2 separate regions of the Homo sapiens genome follow, and region 1 is linked to region 2. The links are contacts of gene promoters, found by promoter capture Hi-C in blood cells and fetal thymus (Javierre and others, 2016). All regions are on one chromosome and are shown on one strand. Each heading gives the region's core, a stretch centred on a gene start or on the middle of the fragment in contact. The rest is flanking DNA. Distances are from core to core; before and after follow the strand shown.

Region 1 (3,729 bases), core at 706-3,205, 3.1 Mb after region 2:
CTGATTGTAATCATTTTTTACAGTCATAGGTACTACACTGACAAGGATTTCTAGTTCCTTTGTGATCTAGATCTTCTGCAATCATTTGCTTATCTTTGTTCCAGATTATCCTGAGAAATCACGTGGATGCCTCAAGAAAGCTTATGACTTGTTCTGCGGTTTGCAGAAGGGACCCAAGCTAACCAAGGAGGAGGAGGAAGCCTTGAGCAAGAAGCTCACAGACACGTCTGAGAGGCCCTCGTGGAGGACAATAGTGAACATCAACGCCATCCTCCTCCTGGCTGTGGTGGTCTTTATTCACGGCTACTATGCCTGAACTCTATCTGAGCCATTAGAATAATGAATAATTCTTAATAATGAACCAAAGGATAATTTTAGTGATTTTAATTTTTTTTTTTTTTTTTTTTTTTTTTTTTTTTTTTTGAGAGGGAGTCTTGCTCTTTCTCCCAGGCTGGAGTGCCGTGGCGCTATCTCGGCTCACTGCAAGCTCCGCCTCCCGGGTTCACGCCATTCTCCTGCCTCAGCCTCCCGAGTAGCTGGGACTACAGGCGCCCGCCACCACGCCCGGCTAATTTTTTGTATTTTTAATAGAGACGAGGTTTCACTGTGTTAGGCAGGATTGTCTCGATCTCCTGACCTCGTGATCCACCTGCCTCGGCCTCCCAAAGTGCTGGGATTACAAGCGTGAGCCACTGTGCCCGGCCATTTTCATGTTATAGTATGTTGTGTGGCAAAAAAAAAAAAAAAAAATGAGCAGTTGGTAATTTTATCTAATGAGATGACTACAGACTTGATATTTTGCTTTTGTTGCTCCTTTGTGTCACTAAGAGTTGATAATTTATAAAACTGTGAAGTGACCTCTACGTGTGCAAACAAGACACACAGGTCTAAATTCTATTTTTCCAGCTTTATTGAGGTATAGTAAACAAATGAAAATGGTTTATATTTAGGATGTACAACGTGATGATTTGATATATGTATACATTCTGAAACAGTAACCACAATCAAGTTAACTAACACATCTGTCACCTCACATGTTTACCTTTTCTGTGTGTGTGGTGAGAACAACTGATAGACTCTTAGTAAATTGCAAGCACACAATACAGTATCATTAGCTACAGTCACCATGCTATCCTTTGCACCCTCAGAATATATTCATCTTATGAATGTTTGTACTCTGACTAATACCTCCCCAGTTACCTACCCCTTCGCCCCAGGCAACCATCATCTACTCTCTGCTTCTATGAGTTCAACTTTTCATTGCAGCACTGTTCACAAGAGCTAAGATACAGAAACAATTTAAGTGTGCTGTGATGGATGAATGATGAGAATGTTGTATATATACATAATGGAATACGATTCAGAACTAAAAATGAAGGAAATCCTGCCACTTGCAACAATGTGGATGAACCTGCAGAACATTATGCTAAGTGAAATAAGCCAGACACAGAAAGACAAATGCTATAGGATCTCACTTATATGTGAAGCCTTAAAAAGAAAATGACCAGGTGATATGGTTTGGCTGTATCCCCACCCAACTCTCATCATGGATTGTAGTTCCCATAATCTCCACGCGTTGTGGGAAGGACCTGGTGGGAGGTAATTGAATTGTGAGGGCGGTTATCCCCGTGCTGCTGCTGTTGTGATCGTGAGTTCTCATGAGATCTGATGGTTTCTGATGGTTTTATAAGGGGCTTCCCCCTACTTCGCTTTGCACTTCTTTCTCTCGCCGCCTTGTGAAGAAGGACGTGTTTACTTCCCCTTCCACCATGCTTGTAAGTTTCCTGAGGCCTCCTCAGCCATGCTGAACTGCGGGTCCATTAAACCTCTTTCCTTTATAAATCACCCAGTCTTGGGTATGTCTTTATTAGCAGTGTGAGAACAGACTAATACACCAGGCAAATTTCCCTACCTCATACTTGCTTTCTGAAGTTTCCAGAGATTTCCATTTGAAAAGAATGCCTCTTCCAACTCTGCCTCACCTAGTAACCTTCTCATCTACACCACAGTGACTTCTCCTGTGAAGCGACCTTCACTCAGTTATTTCAAGGATTTAAAATATAAAAATGTTTTCTAATAGTTGACAGGGGGGTGAACTAGAAATATCCATTGTAAATATCTTTTAAATATACTGGAAATTATTGCTTACATCTTAAAGCCATTTGTCACTGAATACTAAAACATCAAACCATTGATTTTTAACTGCTTCATTAAAATATAATTCACATACTATAAAATGTATCTATTTAAAGCATATAATTCAGTGTATTTTAATATATTCACAGAGTTTTGCAACAATTATCACAATCCAATTTTAGATATTAACATTTATTGGCATCCTTGAATATACGTATTTCTCTGTCTTTATTTCTGTTTTAACACAGTGAATGACAATTATCTCTATGTAGAATTGTAGAGAGGTTTAAGACACACCTTTTTGTAAGCAAGTCAACAAACTAAAATATGTTTTAATAAATTACGTAAGAAACATGGAAGAGGGCCGGGCGCGGTGGCTCACACCTGTAATCCCAGCACTTTGGGAGGATGAGGCGGGCAGATGACGAGGTCAGGAGTTCGAGAGCAGCCCGGCCAACATAGTGAAATTCTGTCTCTACTAAAAATACAAAAAATTAGCTGGGCGTGGTGGCACACGCCTGTAGTCGCAGCTACTCAGGAGGCTGAGGCAGGAGAATCGTTTGAACCTGGGAGGCGGAGGTTGCAGTGAGCCGAGACCGCAGCACTGCACTCCAGCCTGGGTGACAGAGTGAGACTCCATCTCAAAAAAGAAACATGGAAGAGAGAGCACTTTCAGCACATGCTGGAGACTGTCTCTTCCTGGGTAAAAATAATAAAAATTAAAGAAACATATCCATCATATTGTTATAAAAATTCAAACAATGCCCTTGGGTCTGTAGAATTAAATATAATACTCTTCACTGACAACCTAATCCTCTCATCTACTGTCACTAACTTCCCAAAGAAGTGTTGACAAGTTAAAGCATATGTTCTAGTAAGTAATTTTTCTATTAATTTATATACATATGTAAACATACACATACATTTACAAAATGCAATCTTCCTTTATGTGTTATTTTGTGACTGGCTTTTACACATAAAATATATCTTGGAGATCTTTGCCTATCTGTACAAATAGATCTCCCTCATTCTTCTTATAGCTGCACTATTGTTCCATAGGATAGTTCACTATAATTTGGCCACTTTTCTACTAAGGAGCATTCATGTTGGTTTCAATTATTTGCTATTATCTACAATACTCAAATAGACATACCTGTATATTCATCTTTTGACATATTTGCTAGTTTTATTTTCTTTATTTTCCTAGAAATGGAATACTGGAGCAAAGTGTACAAGCATTAATATTTTGATTAAAAATTATGTTTCAAAAAGGATTTGCCAATTTATATTCTCATCAGTATATGAGAGTTTTTATTTACTCACATGCTTGACTACAGGGTATATTACCAATCATAGTGAATTTTTGTCAATTTGATGATTGAAAAATAGTTTCATTTTTTAAATTGGTATTTCTCCACTTACTAGTGAGATTGTATATATTTGCATGTATTTATTAGCTATTCATATTTTTTCTGTGAATTACTTGATATCCTTTACCAATTCTCTAATTCATTTACAGATATTCTTTACATATTCTATATATTTATTATTTGCATATGAATAGCAAGTATTTTGTCTTAAAGTCTATGTCTT
Region 2 (3,431 bases), core at 294-2,793:
TCATGGTGTTGGTGCCCAAGAATGAGCACCTATGAGATCTACTGCCAAGCGATTTCCAGGGATTCCTAACCTTCACTTGGTGATCTCAGGAACAACGTGTGTGTGTAAATACATATAATATATATGTATGTGTATGTATATGTATGTTTGTATGTGTATATTTTTATATATATGTGTGCGTGTGTGTGTGTGTATGTGTATGTGTTTCAAGAGATGGGCTCTCCCTGCGTCGTCCAGGCTGGAGTACAGTGGCGCCATCAGGGCTCACTGCAGCCCTGACCTCCCAGATCCAATAAATCCTCCCAGCTCTGCCTACCGAGTGGCTGGGTGCACAGGCACGCACCACCACGCCCGGCTAATTTCTGTATTTTTTTTTTTTTTTTTTTTTGTAGAGACGGGGTCTCGCCATGTTGCCCAGGCTGGTCTCGAACTCCTGGGCTCAAGCGATCTGCCCGCCTTGGCCTCCCAAAGTGCTGGGATTACAGGCGGGAGCCACCGTGCCCAGCCCAGTGATAATAAATATTACAACTGTTTTTTTTTATATGGCACTGGCCATGTACCAGGCATTGTTCTAAGTATTTCACATTTATTAAGGAATTTAATCTTCACAACAAGCCCACGGAGGTGGGGACCATTATTGCCCGCCAACTACAGGTGAGGAAACCTCGGCCCAGGGAGGCTGCGTCACAGAACTGTGAGTATCCTGTCACCAGGGTGCAGAGAACCACGGACCAGCAGACAGGCGCCAGGTGCCCTGGGCTTGGCTTGGCCCGAGTTCCCGGCTGCCCCACCTACGGAGCACCGAGATGGGCTGACCAGGAGGGTTTGTCCGACCACTGTCTGCTCAGGTTCTGAGAGTCTGTGCGGGTCCATTTGAGGTTGGGTCGAGAAAAGAGCCCAGGCGGACACGTCCTGAGACCCGGGTCTGTGAGGCCTGGCCGCGGGCTGTCCGGCGCTGGGCCCCTCTGGCCAGTTGGCCCCAAGACGCCAAGCCCGGGGCTTCGCGGTCCTGGGAGAAGGGACTTCTAGCCCTTCTCAGGTGTCTGTGTCCGGAGGGCCCGGTGAGCCAGGAAGGAGCTGGCCAGAGCCCAGGCGGCGGGACCCAGCAGAGTGGCCCAGCCACTGCCAACCACGCAGTCCCTTTAACCACGAAAACTTTCTCCCTCGATTGGGGACCCCAGCAGACGCACATTGGCTGCGCCGTGGGCATCCGGACCCACCCTCTCTCCTTACCTACTGGCTGTCATATACATCTATCACAAGCCAAGGCTTCCTAATGGCCCAAGTTCTTGTCAATCAAGAGTGGGAGGAAAGCTGGGCGGAGCCAGGTCGGAGAGCTACACGCCAGCCTCCTTGCCCTCCCTGCCTCCGTGACTAGGCACCCGGAGGCTTCCCAGGGGACCGAAGCTGGGTGCGGAGCACCGGGGCGGAGCTGTGGGGGGCTCCAGGGACTCACCGATGCGCTGTCCCACTGGAGAGCTGAACGGGTTCCCCAGGAGAAAGTCCATTGCTGCTACCGCCGCTGCCACCAACCCCGGGAATCAGCTGACAGCAACCGCCAGCGCCACCGACCCGTCACGTGACGCACTCGGAGGCCGGCGAGGAGGCGTGGGCGGGGCGGTGGCACCGCGAAGCTCGACCACAAGCCCCGCCCTGAGACGCCAGGGTCCCGCCCCCGAGGCGGAGGGCGATGACCTCACTGCGGCTTGCTCGGCGGCGGCGGGCGTCACACACGATGTAGGGTCTGGGGTCGGGGCCCGGGAAGCGCGGTCCTCTTTAAGCCACGCCCCTGACCTTTTAGGGCGAGGTCTAAAGGACCCTTTACACATTTGGGAAACTGGGTCGTAGACCAGGGAAGTGACTTGGGTGAGTTACACAGAAGCCGAGACTCTTAGGGTCATAGCCCTTAGTCCTTGGGACCTCACTGTGACTGCACACCTACCCTGGGTGACAGCCTCTCTGGGCTGTTGTCTCCTTGTCCCGGTAAGACTCTTCCTGTTTGATGTCAAGGTCTCCCCGCTCCAAGATGCACCCTGCTCGCAGCCCAAATTATCTTACCTTAAATCAGAGGCAAGGGCAAGGGGTTTGTCATCTGTTGAGACTGAGAGGCAATTTAATGAATTGCAGCGCAATTCCCTCTAGCGCCCAGGATGGCAAAAAGCACAGATGTAGTCACGAGTGGGGCTTTAATACCCGTCTCTGCCATAAATTTACTGTGTGAGCCAAACATAGCTCCCATTTTCTCTAGATACTGGAATTAGATCAAGGACTCGTAACCATTTTTAAAAAATATTTTATTTAGGTCACAGTCTCCTTTGAGAATTTGACAAAAGCCATGAGCCTTTCTGAAGAAAAAAGGCAGCGATACAATTTTGCTTATAACCTCAGGGAGTTTCTGGGGTCCCTGAAGTACAACCGTGGACCCCAAGCTAAGAATCTCAAAGGCCTTTCCCAGCGTTGTGATTCTAATCTCTTCAGCCTTCCTGGCTGTGTGTGGTGTGTCTGCTGACACCTACACACTAGATACCTATCTATGGGTTATGACCTTTTCTTCTGGCATGTACTCCAAAAATACAATAACCATGGCCTTAGTAGTCTGGCTACTGTGGGTGCTTAAGTACTTATTGTGATGTTTGTGGTTTTTAAATCTGAAAGGCTAGTAAATTGACTGCACAAATTTTGGATGACAGAAAACCTAAATTAAGCAAGGTGTGGTGGCTCACGCCTGTAATCCCAACATTTTGGGAGGCTGAGGCAGGTGGATCACCTGAGGTCAGGCATTCAAAACAAGCCTAGCCAACATGGTAAAATGCCGTCTCTACTAAAAATACAAAAATTAGCCAGGTGTGGTGGTACACGCCTGTAGTCCCAGCTACTTGGGAGGCTGAGGCATGAGAATTGCTTGGACCCAGGGGGGCAGAGATTGCAGTGAGCTGAGATCGTGCCACTGCACTCCAGCCTGGGTGACAGAGTAAGGCTGTGTCTTAAAAAAAAAAACAAACCTAAATTAGAACTTAATCACCTCTGTAGATTCACTTGTTTGAGCAGCCATGGGGTCCGATGTCTTTACTGTACAATATAAAAACTGCTTTGAAGTGTTTCCACAACACTCATGAGACCTGTTCACAAATGCCTTTGCCCCCACGAGTCTGGATGTCCCTGGGGGCTGGGCTACTATTTCTGTTTTGCTCCCCACTATTGTCTAACCCAGTAACTAGCACATGAAAGCTTAAATAGATCTACGTTTCAGTAATGGTATTTGGAGTATAAGCGGGGAGAAGGCCATTTAAGATGACCTTCAGGTCAAGGCACTTTCCATGTCTTTCTTCACTTAACCTTATTGCTTGGTCATATGGAGTTATGTTTAGCATGAACTTCTTTTGGATTCTTCCATTAACCTTTATTTATTTATTTTTAGAGGCAAAGTCTCA

Evidence for each region. Contacts are between HindIII fragments. The CHiCAGO score rates a contact against its expected background, and 5 or more counts as called.
Region 1: a contact is called between a fragment that was not itself captured here and the fragment with the promoter of TOM1 in region 2, in 1 of 17 cell types (M1 macrophages). The highest score is 8.2, in M1 macrophages.

What each region holds. Positions count from the first base shown.
Region 1 is chr22:32,215,101-32,218,829 of GRCh38, reverse strand. The region is part of intron 2 of SLC5A4-AS1 (SLC5A4 antisense RNA 1); the gene reads right to left. SLC5A4 (solute carrier family 5 member 4) reads left to right here. Exons shown (of 15, transcript NM_014227.3): 15 at 105-366. The coding sequence ends at 316. Among named protein-coding and RNA genes, the nearest start is that of SLC5A4-AS1, 12 kb to the right of the region's middle. The HindIII fragment of the contact is 3,626 bases long and covers 143-3,729 here.
Region 2 is chr22:35,298,006-35,301,436 of GRCh38, reverse strand. It overlaps TOM1 (target of myb1 membrane trafficking protein), which reads right to left and starts at 1,543. Exons shown (of 15, transcript NM_005488.3): 1 at 1,457-1,543. The coding sequence starts at 1,508. RefSeq lists enhancers at 1-399, 810-969, 923-1,445, 1,370-1,519, 1,446-1,968. The HindIII fragment of the contact is 3,434 bases long and covers 1-3,230 here.